5 separate regions of the Homo sapiens genome follow, and regions 2, 3, 4 and 5 are each linked to region 1. Evidence: promoter capture Hi-C in human tissues and cell types (Jung and others, 2019). All regions are on one chromosome and are shown on one strand. The core of a region is centred on a gene start or on the middle of the fragment in contact, and the rest is flanking DNA. Distances in the headings are between cores, read along the strand shown.

Region 1 (2,700 bases), core at 147-2,646:
GGGAGGCAAAGGTTGCAGTGAGCCAAGATTGCGCCACTGCACTCCAGCCTGGGCGACAGAGCGAGACTCCCTCTCAATAAAAAAATAAATAAATATAAAAACTATCACTCTGGTTGCTGAATGGAGAATGGATTATACTGGGGAGAGATAGGAAGCTACTCGGGAGTAGAAGTGAAGAATTGACCGCAGTACTTTAGGCAAGAAATGATAGCAGCTTGAACTAGGGTGGTGGTGGTCTGATTCCAGATGTACTTTGGAGGCAGAGTTAGTAGGATTTTTTTCTTGGAGTGGGGATGGGCACAAGGGAAAGTACTGAAAGACAACTTCTAGGTTTTTGGTTTGAGCAACTGGGTGAATGATTGTGACATTTGAGTAAACAGTAACATTTTACTGAGAGGGGAAGACCTGGGGGGAGAACAGGTGGTTTTTTGACAGGGGCAGCGAAACAAATGTTCTGTTTTGAATGTGTTCAGCCTGAGGTGCCTATTAGACATCCAAATTGAAATAGCCAGTAGGCACTTGAATATGTGAGTCTGGAGATCAGACAGGTCAGAGCTACAGAAAATCTGAAGGTGTGGCAGAGCTGAATTGTAAAGCTGTGGAGCTGGATGAGATCTCCTAGGGAGATAAGGGAGAGGGATAAGGGCTAAAGCGTTGGCATACTCCAAAATATATAGGTGAACAGTGGCTTTGGATCCAGCAAAGGGGACTGAGGAGGAACCATTGAGATAGGGAAAAAAACGGTAGAGTGCTGAGTCATGGAAGCAAAAAGAAGAAAGTATTTCAAAGAAGGAATAGTCCATCTATAAGTTGGATATGATAAGGATAGTATTTCAGACTGTGGAAATCACAGTTGACCTGGATAAGTACAGTTTTTGTGGGGAGGTCCCCAGCTCTCCACTGAATGATCTCTTATTAGATCAAATTTGATCTCTAATTAGCAGTCTAATTAGATGGGTTGAAGAAAAGATGGGAAGTGAGGGATAAAGATACGTCTTTTGAGAAGTTTTGTTGGGCAGGTAATAATTGAAGAACGGGAGGGGGACAAAAATGTGAAGATGAAATGATGTGTAAGTGAAATCTTTATGTAAACTGCAAATGCTCTGCAAGTGTTAGGCTTATTTTGTTATTTAGTATTCAAACTTCTAGGAATTTCAATGCAGCTCAGTGTGAAGAATCACTAAAAAGCGACCACTAGTCCTCAACTTGAGGGCCATTAAGGGGCAAAGCCGTCTAGCCAGTGAAGAGCCAAGAAATGAAGAGACGGTTTGAGAAGACGTAGGCGGTGGGGGAACGGAAAGAGGAATCGCGAAACTAATATTGTCCTTCCAAGGACACCGTAGGGCGGATCTCGCAGCTACGGCGTTCTTTTAGGGGTGGAGCCGGCAGGAAATTTAAACTGAAGCCGCGGCCGAAAACGCCAAGAGATTGATGCTGTAGCTGCCCTGAGATAACCAGGACTGTGGAATCGGGAAGAGCTCATGGAGCTCGCGAATGTAATACGGAGGCCTCTGAGGAAGGAGTACGGAGGCCGAGAAGGAGCCGGCATTTGATGAGCGAACCGGGAAAGGGTACGGATGCCGGGAAGGGGAGAAAGAAAGGCGGAAGGGGTCGTTAATAGCTGAGGCGAGGTGCGGAGTCGTGGAGGGGGCTTAGGAAGTGACCAGCGGGTAGGTGCCGAAGCTGAGGAGGGTATAGGGGCCGGGAAGGAGCCACAGGAGTTGAGGGGACCGAGGAATGAAGGTGGCAGAGGAACGTAGGGGACAACAGCCTGGAGGGATGTATGGAGATTGAGATGGACAGGAGGTGGCCAAGAGGTCACGGCCGTTGACTGAACGGAGTCTGAAAGGAGGCGGAGGGCATGAGGGGCAAGAGCCTGGCGGGAGTCGCGGGATGTAGGTCGGAATGGAGTTGAGTCTTGCTGTTCCCAGGAGTCGCGTTTCTGTGCGCGTTTTGGGAGACAGTAGTGGGCGGGAGGCATGGAAGTTCCAAGGGTTGGTGAAGATGGTTGAGTTGCTGTTATGTCCTTTCTCAGGAGACGATTGCCTCGAGCTGGAGAGTTCCATGGCTGAGAGTAGGCTCCGGGCCCCGGACCTAGGTGGGTAACAGGACAGAACTAGGGACGTGAGGTGAAAATTGCCCCAGGGTCTCTTGGAGAAGACCGAAAAATGTTCCCCCTGTTGGAGTTTTCGATCACTCAGTGTTTTTATGTACTTATTTATTCATTTTATTTATTGGGATGGGGTCTTGCTGTGTTGGCCAAGCTGGTCTCAAACTCCTGGCCTCAAGCAGTTCTCCTGCCTAGGCCTCCCAAAATGCTGGGATTACAGGTGTGAGCCACTTCACCAGGCCCACTTAGTGGTTTTATGTGTGTGTGTGTATGGACGCAGCATCATAGACCGTTTTGGGATTCATGATAAAGGTCAAGTAAGAGTCATATTATGAACAAGATTAACAGACAGATGTGGAGTCAGGATAGAGTGACTTATTAAATATATAAATTAATACATTCATAGTTGTTTACAATAAAATCCTTAAGTTAAACACTGCTACCTAATTAGGTAAGTATTTTAGCACATGGCACTTCCCTCCGTACTGCCCCTTTAGTTAATATCATCTAGTTGGCCGGGCGCGGCTGCTCACGCCTGTAATCCCAGCACTTTGGGAGGCCAAGGCGGGCGGATCACGAGGTCAGGAGAT
Region 2 (2,700 bases), core at 141-2,640, 490 kb before region 1:
AGCCACCTCACCCTTTGGAAGACATACCAGTTCCCACTCAGGAAGGCTGAGAGGTGAACGACTAACGACTTTCTAACCGCCCAGAGTAGAAGGGGGCAGGTCCACACTCTGAGAGACTCAGCCATGACCTTATTAGACTTAAGGGGTCTATGGGAATGGGAGTGCGCCCCTCCTCTTCCTCGTGACCCCCTCCCCCAGCCCCTGCAGCCCGGCTCCGCGGCGCGCGCCCTCCCCTGGCCACGCGAGGGCCTGCTCCTAGCTCCCGCGTGCAGCGAGCGCCCGCCCTCCGCCCCGCTTCCCAACCCCAGCCAAAAAAAAAAAAAAAGAAAAAATCTCCTCCTCCTCGGAGCGCCCGCCCCGGGGAGGCCCCAGGCTGGAGGGCGGGGGAAGAGGAAGGGCGGGTAAAGGGCGCGCGCGGCCACGGAAGCGGGCACGCGCCCCAGTCTCCTCCTCCCGCCTCCCCCCGGCCGGTTCCCCCCGCCTCCGCAACCCGGCGGGGACCCGGACGCAGCGCAGCCGCCGCCAGCCCCGGAGCGGAGCGGCCGCACCGCCCCCGGGGACCGGATCCGGATTCCCGCCGCTCCCCCCTCCCGGGCTCCCTTCGCCGTCCCCGCCCGCACAGGCGGGCAAGCAGCCGGAGAGAAGCGGCCTAGCCTGCCCCCCGCCCCCGAGCCACCCACCCCGGCCAGAGGCGCCGCCACCGCCCAGCCACCCCGACGCGCACGGAGGAGCCCGGCACAGAGGCGCGACCGCGGCGGGAACCGCCGCCTCCTCCCCCGAGCCTGCGGCCCAGCCCCGCCGGCGCCCCCGCCCCGGCCTCCGGGGAGCCGAGCCAAGGAGAGGGCGGGAGGACGGCGGCCGGGAGGCGGGGGCGCAGCGCTCACCGGCCCCGCCGCCCCCTCCGGCGGCCGGGGAGAACTGCGCCTGCCGGCTCCGAGAAGCGCGGGCTCCTCCGCCAGCGGCCGGGGCTCGGCTCAGGCCTCGCTTCCTGCCTTCCCCTCCCCCGGCTCTCGGCGTCCTCCCAAGTGCCCTGGTCTGCTCGCGCCCGGTCGCCTGCTCGGTGGTCGCTTCGGGTCCCCGCTGGGCGCCCACCGCACCCCGCGGTTCGCTCCCGCCGTCCGGCCCCGACCCCAGCGCGCGTCCTCAGCCGCCTCGGTTACCCGGCGCAGCGCGGCCTCCGGGCTTCCCGCTCCAGCGGCTCCCTCCCTGGCTCTGAGTGGCGGCGCCCTCCCCCGCTCGGCCGGGCACAGCCGCAGCTCCCTCCCGCGGCGGCAGCGGCTCCTCCTCCGGGCGAGGCGGCGGCGCTGGGGCGGCGGCTGCTGCTGCTGTGGCGGCGGCGGCGGCGGCGGCGGCTGTGGCTGCTGCCTGCTGCTCCTCGCGGCGAAAAGCACAAAGCACAGCGCCCTCCGCCTGCAGGCAGCCCGCCCGCCGCCGGCCCCGGCCTCAGCTCGCACACCCCCCGCCGCCGCCGCAGCCTCAGCCGCCGGAGCGGGGAGGAGGAGGGAGAAGGGAGGAGGAGGAGCGGGAGGGGGGGCGGGAGAAGCGGGGCAGCGAGCGCGTCCTTCCCCGTAGAGCGCACACCGACCCCCGGGGAGCGAGCGCCAGCCCGCCCGCCTCGCCGGCTCCGCTCCCTCCCACAGCCTGCCCGGGCGGGCTCCGCGGGGGGCAGCTGGGAGGAGGGGCGGGAGCTGGGGGGACCCGGGCGGCCGAGGCGGAGGGAAGGAAGGAGGGGAGGGGGGTGGTGGTGGTGGTGCTGGCGGCGGCGGCGGCTGCTGCTGCTGCTGCTGCCGCCGCCGGGGAAGGGGGGGGGGGCCGGGGCAGGGAGACACGCAGCCGCCCGGATGGCGGCGGGGCTCGGAGCCTAGGCGGGCGGGCGGGCGCCGAGAGCGACCTCGCCAGACCCGCGGGGGAACTAGCAGGCTTCGCCGGCGAGGGAGGGCCGAGGTGCGGCCGCGGAGAGGGTGCCCGGAGGTGCCCCCGGCGTCCGGGGAGGCTCGGGGGGCGCCCACAGCCCTGCTCCGGAGCTCTCCCCCAAGTTCTCCCAGCTCAGACTAGGGCTTCCAGGCCAGCTCTCTCCCGCCTCCCGGAGCGAGCGGTCCGCGCCCACCCTCATCCCCCGGAGCGTGGCCGCTGGTTTGGGGCGCACGCACGCCGATCGCGGCGTCCAGCTTCGGTGCCTACCTCGCGGTCCTCTCCTTGCCGAACGGCACATACGAAACTTAAAAAAAAACCCGAAAACTAAAACCTCTGCATTAAAAAAAAAAAATCCCCGTTGCTCTTTACACCCCGGAAACGGCAAGGGAACGACGGGCTCCGGCGGAGGGGCCGCTGTGGGAGCCGGTTCAATCCAGCCCGGCATGGTTCTCCAGGCCTGCCCGGGCGCATGAAGATCGGCGCCGCCGCCACTCGTAGCAACCCCTCTCCCCCGAAATCCGCGGCTCCCGGGCTCACTTACCGAGCGTGTGGATGGGAGCGCAGGCCGGGGGCACCTGGGAGCACGGCGGGCCGAACAGTCGAGCCGCAGCTCCGCTGCAGCCGACGCCGGGGCAGCGAGTCGCCAGACAAAGCCCGAGATGGCGAAGCGGAGCGACGGCTAATGGCGAGCCCCACGCGCCGCGCTCCGCCCGCCCCGCTCCGCCCGCCCGCCCGCCCGCCTCGGCGCAGCGCAGCGCCGCTCCGAGCGCTTGCCCGTCAGAGCCG
Region 3 (2,700 bases), core at 147-2,646, 260 kb before region 1:
TATACTGGAGAGAGAAATATATAGGTATATAAAACATATAGCCATATTTAATTCCTGACACCCCCAAATCTTGTAAAAATATGGCTATATGGAGGGTATAGCAAGGTCACAGTGCTTACTAGTTGCAGAGTTAGAATTGAACCCAGGTGAAATTTCAGATGAGCTCACAAAGTAGTAACTTGCGGTTCAAATACAGCCTGGTATGTTTTGTTTAATTTCATTATTTTAGACTTCAAGCCAACATTTATCAATTAGAACATTTCACAGAAAAGGAATCTGAATTCCTGGCTGCTTTTAACAATTTTAGAAGATCCAGCAACACTGAGATTATAATCTTAGGTGGCAACAATTACCTTCTCTAAACACAGCAAAACTCACACCACTTGCTATTGTCTCACACTCACTCAATTTCAACAACGTATGCTATCATCGGGCCCCAACTCCTACTTCAGGTCTACATTCTTTGCTCCCTCCTTTTGAACCAAATGGGATTTACAAGAAAACCAAGTGGGATTTCTATCTACTGGTTTGGGAAGATTTAGTGAGAAAGGAAATACTGGATTTAAAACTAATAAACTACATTTGAAATACTACATAAAAATATATTACACTTTGTTCTCTTTTCCGAGTGTTTTAAGTGCCATTGTTTTGAATTTTGGTGGTAAATTTTAAATGAACTTTTGAAAGATTTTAATAAAATATGTTTATTATAAAACACTTTTTACTTTATGTTCTTATCATTTTCAGATTTCATTCCACTTTAAAATACCAACGCTTCTCATGGAAGAATAAAGAGATTCCACTAACTCACAGACACCTGTACTCCATGTATCTATCAGCAAGTATAGATGCACAGATAGAAAATAGTTGGTTGCTTCTTTATTCTCACAATCTGAGACTTTTCACTTGTTAATTATTATAAAAAATTTGAAATTATAACTTAAATTGCTCAATTCTCTATTAAGCTTCCACTGTACCTTTAACTTCACAATTAAAACAATCATTATACTGTATTAAATTTGTTACATTATTTGTTTCCCTATTAGAAATAAACCTCTGGAGGGCAGAGGTTCTATCTTATTCACTCTTAAAGACTTAGTACAGATCTGGCACATTCTTTTTCTCTTTTTCTTTGGAGACAGAGTCTTACTCTGTCACCCAGGCGGCTCACTGTAACCTCCGCCTCCTGAGTTCAAGCTATTCTCATGCCTCAGCCTTCCAAGTAGCTGGGATTACAGGCGTGCACCAACATGCCTGGCTAATTTTTGTATATTTTGGTAGAGAGGGTTTCGCCATGTTGGCCAGGCTGGTCTTGAACTCCTAGCCTCAAGTGATCCACCTGCCTCGTCCTCCCATAGAGCTGTGATTACAGTCGTGAGCCACCACACCCAACCCAGATCTGGCACCTTTTAAGCATGCAATAAACATATGCAGAATACAAAACAAGAAAAACAGCAACAGAGAATACATAAATGCACAGTAATTACTATCCTTTAGGAATTTACAGTCTACTGAATTAGGTAAAAGAGACACATCAACAAAAATTATACAAGATTGAATATTTAAAATGCCACAGGAGAGAAACAGAAAGTAGAAGTCAGGGAGGAAATTATAGTATGAGACATAAGTTACAGTATTTTCTTTTTCCCTGGACACCAATTTCCATCCCTAAATATTTGGCAAAAGTTCTTACCACTCAACTTTAGCCTTAAGTTTCTAGTGAATTTATACTCATCATGAAGAATATATATGACCACTTCAAGTGCCCTACGAGAATATATCACATTCAGAATTATCTCCACTTTTTCTGGCCTGAATAACTACTGTATATTTCAATTCGGTGGCACTGGTATTTCTCACCACCATCATATCTCTCCAGGATAGGGAAGTAAGCTAGCACCTACAGTTTAGGTACATTACAGCATATTGGTTAAAAGCATAGGTTTTGGCACCAAGATTCTACCACTTATCTGCTGTAAGATCTTGGGCAGGCTGGGCGTGGTGGCTTAAGCCTGTAATCCCAGCACTTTGGGAGGCCGATTCGGGCGGATTGCCCGAGGTCAGGAGTTTGAGACCAGTCTGGCCAACATAGTGAAACCCCGTCTCTAATAAAAATACAGGAAAATTAGTCAGGTGTGGTGGCATGCACCTATAATCTCAGCTAGTTGGGAGGCTGAGGCAGGGGAATTGCTTGAACCAGGGAGGTGGAGGTTGCAGTGAGCCGAGACTGCACCACTGCACTCCAGCCTGGGTGACAGAGCAACACTCCGTCTCAAAAAAAAAAAAAAAAAGAAAAAAAAAAAAAGGAAAAAAGATCTTGGGCAAAGATCTTTTGGTAAAATGCTCTTTGGGTAAAATGGGAGTATCTACCTCAAAGAGGATTTAAGTTAGAAAATCCATGTCCAAGCACTCAGTAAACACTTAATAAATGATGGCTATTATAAAAGATTAACACTAAATCTAGTGAATAGGGGCTTGCTAGTCAAACATGTGCATAAACTGACTATATATTGTCTTCATAGTTGACCTGTTTTATCAGCCTTCATAGTTATTCCTTCCTTTCCATTTCCACTATTACTCTTTCAAGTCCTTATCTATACTCATACCCAGACAACTTTCTAAATGGTTTTCCATCTCCATCCTCAGACATTCTTTGAGCAGACTATTATTTTATTTCCATCACCAATGCCTGGCTGGGAT
Region 4 (2,700 bases), core at 61-2,560, 280 kb before region 1:
AATTCTCTTTCTTAACTAAAAACATACGGGAAGGCAGAGATACGACAAGGGTAGTTAAGGAAAGATGAAGGCTGAGTACCAATGTTTGAGAATGACAGCTGAGAGGACTAAGAGGGACATGACACATGAGAGGATTAATTGGCAGCTCTGAGGGCCCAGTGAGGTTGGCAGAAAGGGTATAGAAATAAAGAATGCAAGTAATGCATTTTGTACTAACGGGACAGGCTTTTGGTGAGTATGTATGACAAAAGGACTAGGAGGAAAGGGAGTTGGAATCAAAGTGCTGTGAGAGGTAAACATGAGTGTGTGGTGCTAGAGGGGAAAAGTACAAATTAAGGAGGAGCTAAGTTACTAAAGCTTCCAAAGTCATGTGAAGTTGAAGAAAAAATATAGGAGAATAAAGGAGTGACAGCAGGAAGGAAAAAAGACCATGGTCAGATAATAGGACATTTAAGATTTTAGAAACAGTGTAGTTCAGAGTTGACAGGGTTTCGGAGTAAATATTTTGATCAATAAGATGGGGAAAGTAATTCTTGCTCTTGCCCAGGCTGGAGTGCAGTGGTGTGATCATAGGTCACTGCTGTCTTCAACTCCTGGGCCCAAGTGATCCTCCCAATTCAGCTTCTCTAAGTAGCTGGGATTTATAGGCATGCACCACCAACACCTAGCTATTTTTTTTCTTTTTTCTTTTTGTAGAGACAGATTCTTGCTACATTGCCCAGACTGCTCTCAAACTCCTGGGCTCAAGCAATCCTCCCAAAGCACAGCCGTGATCCACCGCACCCAGCCGAGAAATAATTCTATTACCAGGGAGAGAGCATCTCAAGATACTATGTATAATCTTATGAGGCTGTGAATTACTGAGGTATTTCATTTATTTTTCACTCGACAGTGTAACTTTTACTTGAAAAATAAAAATGTATTCTTTATAATGTTTATATTTCAGACAGTACATAAAATGAATCTGGCTTTTCTCACTATTTCAAAATATTTATTCATTCAACTAATATTTATTGAGTACTTATGCACCACACACTGTGCTGGATGCAGGATATATACTGGCAGACAAATAGACATACTCTCTCTCCTCAATGCCCTTTCTGACTAGTACAGAAAGCAGAATATAAATTAGTGAATAAAAATTTATAATTACAAATTGTAAGAGAGGTTGTTGCAAGAGAATAAGGCAGAGTGGTTAATTATTTAAATGAGTTGATTAGGGAAGATCTATAATGAGGTAATATTTAAGCTAAAACCCAAAGGAGAAAATTTAACCAAGTGAAAGATGATGAAACATGGTGTCATGACCACTCTTGTGCCTAGAGAAAGAATGTAGCCAGAAAAAGAGGGCCCAGGTCTGAAGCTGAGGAACTCCAATATCTGAAGTTCAGGCAGAATAAACAGCAGCCAACAAAGGAATCTACATAGAAGCAGCAAGACAGATAAGAAGCAACTAATCTAGGAAAGTATAAATTCTTCAAAACCAAGAGTAATGAAAATGTTTTAAAGAAGAAAGAGTATGCCAGGCGCAGTGGCTCACGCCTGTAATCCCCACACTTTGGGAGGCCGAGGTGGGCAGATCACGTGAGGTAAGGAGTTCGAGACCAGCCTGGCCAACATGGTGAAACCCCATCTCTACCAAAAATTCAAAAAAATTAGCTGGCCGTGGTGGCTCATACCTGTAGTCCCAGCTACTCGGAGGCTAAGGCACGAGAATCACTTGAACCCGGGAGCAGTGAGCTTAGATCACACCACTGTACTCCAGCCTGGGCAACAGAGTGAGACTCAGTCTTTAAAAAAAATAATAATATTAATAATAATAATAAAATAAATAAATAAATAAATGATTTATTGGATTTAGCAAATAGAAGTGTTTGGTGGCCTTGAATAAAGTGGTTTGGTGAAAACTGCTAAAGTCAGTATAAATAGGCTGAAGAGTGAATAAAGAGAGAGGAAAGGAGAAGAAAAAGGGGAAAGAAAAAGGGGCAGGAAAAGAAGATGAGTTGGTTATATTATAGTTCTGGATAAAATAAAACACACAAAAATTTAATATATAGCTAAGCTAAGTTCAAAAACAAGAAAGGGGGTCAAGCGCGGTGACTTACGCCTGAAATCCCAGCAAACTGGGAAGCCGTGGCAGGCAGATCACCTGAGGCAAGGAGTTCAAGACCAGCCTGGCCAACATGGTGAAACCCCATCTCTACTAAAAACACAAAAATTAGGCTTGGCGTGGTGGCTCACGCCTGTAATCCCAGCACTTTGGGAGGCCGAGGCGGGTGGATCACAAGGTCAGGAGTTCGAGACCAGCCTGACCAACATGGTGAAACCCCGTCTCTACTGAGTGTTGGGGTTACAAGTGTGAGCCACTGTGTCTGGCCTCTGCAAGTGTTGGGGTTACAAGTGTGAGCCATTGTGTCTGGCCTCAAAGGACTTTTAACAATTTTTACTGCTACCACTACTTGAATACCTACTATGTAACAGGCATTGTGTTTTCAAACACTAATTCATGTAATCTTTCTAACACACTTTAGAAGTAGGTATTATTATCTCTATAGTTTATACAGAGCCAATAAATAGGAATGTAATAGAAATCTGAGATCTACTACTAATTACCACCAAATGTCAAACAAATGCTGTTAGCAACAGTGATGATTTTCAACAAAATTTGAGTTCTTTCTTATTCAGTGAGCACCTCCCCAT
Region 5 (2,700 bases), core at 132-2,631, 420 kb after region 1:
CTCAGTAACCAGAGTGCCAGGCACAGCGCCCAGACATAGTCAGCGCTCAGGTGGAATGAGTCGAGGTAACAAGAAGGCAAAACTGGCAATCAGGACCCCTGAATTCTGCCCCAAGTTCTACACGGGGTCCCTGGCAGCCTTGTCCTTCTGTTCCGGAGTTCCACACCTAGCCTCTCCATCACTGACTATTCTACCAATGGCAGGTCCAACGCAGCACTTCAGTGGCGCGGTCCTTTCCACGTCAGACAACATTCTCGCACACACCCTCTCATTCAAGCCCTCCACTGCCCTGCGGGTCCCACTTTTCCCAGACTCTGAGAGGGTACCAGGGCCCATGTGGTGGGGCACCACCGGGGTGCCAGTCACACTTTGCCCTTTGTTGGCTGTGTGGTCATAGGCAAATTCCTTGCCGTCTCTGAGTCAGTTTCCTCACTTGTGAAATGAGGATTCACCTCCCACCTAGGAAGTCGAGGAAGATTGCAAGACACCACCTGTGTAACCCACCCAGTGCCAGCTGCCTCTGTGATGTTCCAATGAGCCACAGTTACATTCCTTCTCCACGACTGACTTCCCCAAATCTGAGGTGAGAGCCTTGGCTGTCGGACGTAGGCTGTTAGACCAGTCCTGCCAGAGCAGTGTGGCTGTGGCCGCCTCTGTGGGGCCGCGGCTTGGAGGGCTGCTGTGGAGGCCAGCCTCTTCTGCGGAGGCCGACCGCAAACTCGCATCCTTCCTAAGGGCTGCCAAGACCCCGAGACACCCTGGCAGAACCTAGATACTGCTGGGGAGCCGGACGAGGGACACCCCAAGCCTCCCTCTCCCGCTCCATTCTCCTTGGAGACCCCACCAGCGCCCCGTGCCCGAATTCGCGCTTCAGACGCCCCGCGAGCGCCCCCTGGTGGGAAGCAAAGAACACCCTGGGCGCCCGGCTCGCCCCGGGACCCTCGGATGACCCCAGGTGCGACCCCCAGCTGGAGGGAGCTGGCCCTCCGCCCCTAGCCATAGCCTCCCAGCCCCGTGCAGCCTGGGGAATCCACGAACTGCTCCCTGGAGCGCCCCAGACTGGGCCTCTGGGAACGGTCCGCGCCCACCCCACCGCCCCTTGCCCGTCACTGACCCATCTTCTTCAGCGCCCGCAGCCCGGGCCTCTTGGTGCCGCCATCGGAGGGAGTCGGCGGGGACGGGAGAGCGACCGGCGCCGCGACTTGGGCTGCGACCTGGGCGGCCACCGGGGGCTCCTCGGGCGGGCGGCGGCAACGCCTCCAGCGGCCGCACAGCATGGCTTGGCGGGGGGCCGGGGCCGGGCCCGGGGTCTGCACGCGGGGACAGGGCAGCGGGGCGCCGCTCTGGCCCGGCCCCGGCTCTGAGCGAGGCGGCGAGCGAAGAAACTTAGCGGCGCGGGAGGGAGTCGGAGGAGGCAGCAGGAGGTGGGGCGGGGCGGGGCGGGAAGGGAAGGGGGCGGGGCCGGGGCGGTGCGAGGGCGGGGCCAGGCGGTGGCCTGGAAGCCCGGAGCCTCAGCGCTCGCCCCTGCTCGTGAGTCCGTCTCCCCTTAGTCCGGGCGAGCCTCTGATCTTGGCCGCAAGGGTGACTAGAGCCCCCATGCTGCGGGGCTGGGGGTGGGAGCCGGCACCGGGGACGAGGGCCATCCTCTGGCACAGACACCCTCTCCTTCCCGGGGGCCCTGACTCGAGGCTGACGCAGGACCCCCTCCTCCTTCCCTTCCGCGTCCCCGTCGCGCCGCAGGCCTCAGCAGGGAACCAGAGCCGGGACAGGACGCAGGGCCGGGAGCGAAGGCAGAACCCCGGGAGCTGAGCCGCTCGGGGCAGCGCGAACCCGAAGGGATGGGCATGGGGGTGGGGAGGTTGGCAGTGACGTCATAGGATTAACCTCCCTGTGCCAGGCCAGGTGCTGCCCCCTCGGAGAGCCACAGTCTCGGAGCTGACGGACCTGGGGAGCGTGAGGCGGAGCCGAGCCTGGAGTCCCCAGCAACTGGTTCTGGGTTCGAGGCTTGGACAGGCCGGCACCCCAGCCCGGCACCCGCGGTGTAGTTGTCCGCGACGTCAACCCGTGGGTGGGCATCCGTGTGCAGGTTCTGGTGGCCGAGTCGGGTGTGCACTTACTATTTATATGCAAGCACCAGAGTGCGTGCGCGAAGTGGGGGACGTCCAGGTGGCAGCGTTTCTGCGGCCGGTGGCCTGGGTCCGGCAGAGACATGGGCGCACACCGCCACTTTGCGGCGGCCAGCGGCGTGGCATCCTACAGAGAGGCTAGTGCTCAGGGCCTGATTTGCCACCTACTTGCCCTGCTCTACCCCATCCTCAGATCTCCCAGGCCCAGAGATTCTGCACACTGGCTTGGGTCCCTACGCCACTCTGGGGTCCTGAATTTTCTTTTTTTTTTTTTTTTTTTTTTTTTTTTTGAGACGGAGTCTCGCTCCGTCGCCCAGGCTGGAGTGCAGTGGCGGGATCTCGGCTCACTGCAAGCTCCGCCTCCCGGGTTCACGCCATTCTCCTGCCTCAGCCTCCCAAGTAGCTGGGACTACAGGCGCCCGCCACTACGCCCGGCTAATTTTTTGTATTTTTAGTAGAGACGGGGTTTCACCGTTTTAGCCGGGATGGTCTCGATCTCCTGACCTCGTGATCCGCCCGCCTCGGCCTCCCAAAGTGCTGGGATTACAGGCGTGAGCCACCGCGCCCGGCCCTG

What was found. Contacts are between HindIII fragments. The study calls those that stand out against the background at their distance.
Region 2: the fragment with the promoter of UBTF here is called in contact with the fragment with the promoter of DBF4B in region 1 in 1 of the 25 tissues and cell types used here (dorsolateral prefrontal cortex).
Region 3: a contact is called between a fragment that was not itself captured here and the fragment with the promoter of DBF4B in region 1, in 1 of the 25 tissues and cell types used here (adrenal gland).
Region 4: a fragment that was not itself captured here is called in contact with the fragment with the promoter of DBF4B in region 1 in 2 of the 25 tissues and cell types used here (bladder and pancreas).
Region 5: the fragment with the promoter of PLCD3 here is called in contact with the fragment with the promoter of DBF4B in region 1 in 1 of the 25 tissues and cell types used here (IMR-90 fibroblasts).

Annotation. Positions count from the first base shown.
Region 1 is chr17:44,707,269-44,709,968 of GRCh38, forward strand. It overlaps DBF4B (DBF4B-CDC7 kinase regulatory subunit), which reads left to right and starts at 1,397. Exons shown (of 14, transcript NM_145663.3): 1 at 1,397-1,571; 2 at 2,036-2,098. The coding sequence starts at 1,553. RefSeq lists enhancers at 1,203-1,717, 1,718-2,231. The HindIII fragment of the contact is 13,873 bases long and covers 1-2,700 here.
Region 2 is chr17:44,218,285-44,220,984 of GRCh38, forward strand. UBTF (upstream binding transcription factor) reads right to left here and starts at 1,391. Exons shown (of 21, transcript NM_014233.4): 1 at 1,161-1,391; 2 at 1-12. The region is part of intron 1 of ATXN7L3-AS1 (ATXN7L3 antisense RNA 1); the gene reads left to right. RefSeq lists silencers at 118-287, 338-1,357, 1,117-1,281, 1,408-2,097, 2,608-2,700. The HindIII fragment of the contact is 22,653 bases long and covers 1-2,700 here.
Region 3 is chr17:44,449,999-44,452,698 of GRCh38, forward strand. All of the region lies in intron 3 of GPATCH8 (G-patch domain containing 8), which reads right to left. Among named protein-coding and RNA genes, the nearest start is that of GPATCH8, 52 kb to the right of the region's middle. The HindIII fragment of the contact is 3,187 bases long and covers 1-2,700 here.
Region 4 is chr17:44,432,337-44,435,036 of GRCh38, forward strand. The region is part of intron 5 of GPATCH8 (G-patch domain containing 8); the gene reads right to left. Among named protein-coding and RNA genes, the nearest start is that of ITGA2B, 44 kb to the left of the region's middle. The HindIII fragment of the contact is 4,000 bases long and covers 1-2,700 here.
Region 5 is chr17:45,131,134-45,133,833 of GRCh38, forward strand. PLCD3 (phospholipase C delta 3) reads right to left here and starts at 1,382. Exons shown (of 15, transcript NM_133373.5): 1 at 1,115-1,382. The coding sequence starts at 1,277. It also overlaps a transcript of ACBD4 not described here. RefSeq lists silencers at 1,186-1,315, 1,416-1,635 and an enhancer at 2,106-2,175. The HindIII fragment of the contact is 27,952 bases long and covers 1-2,700 here.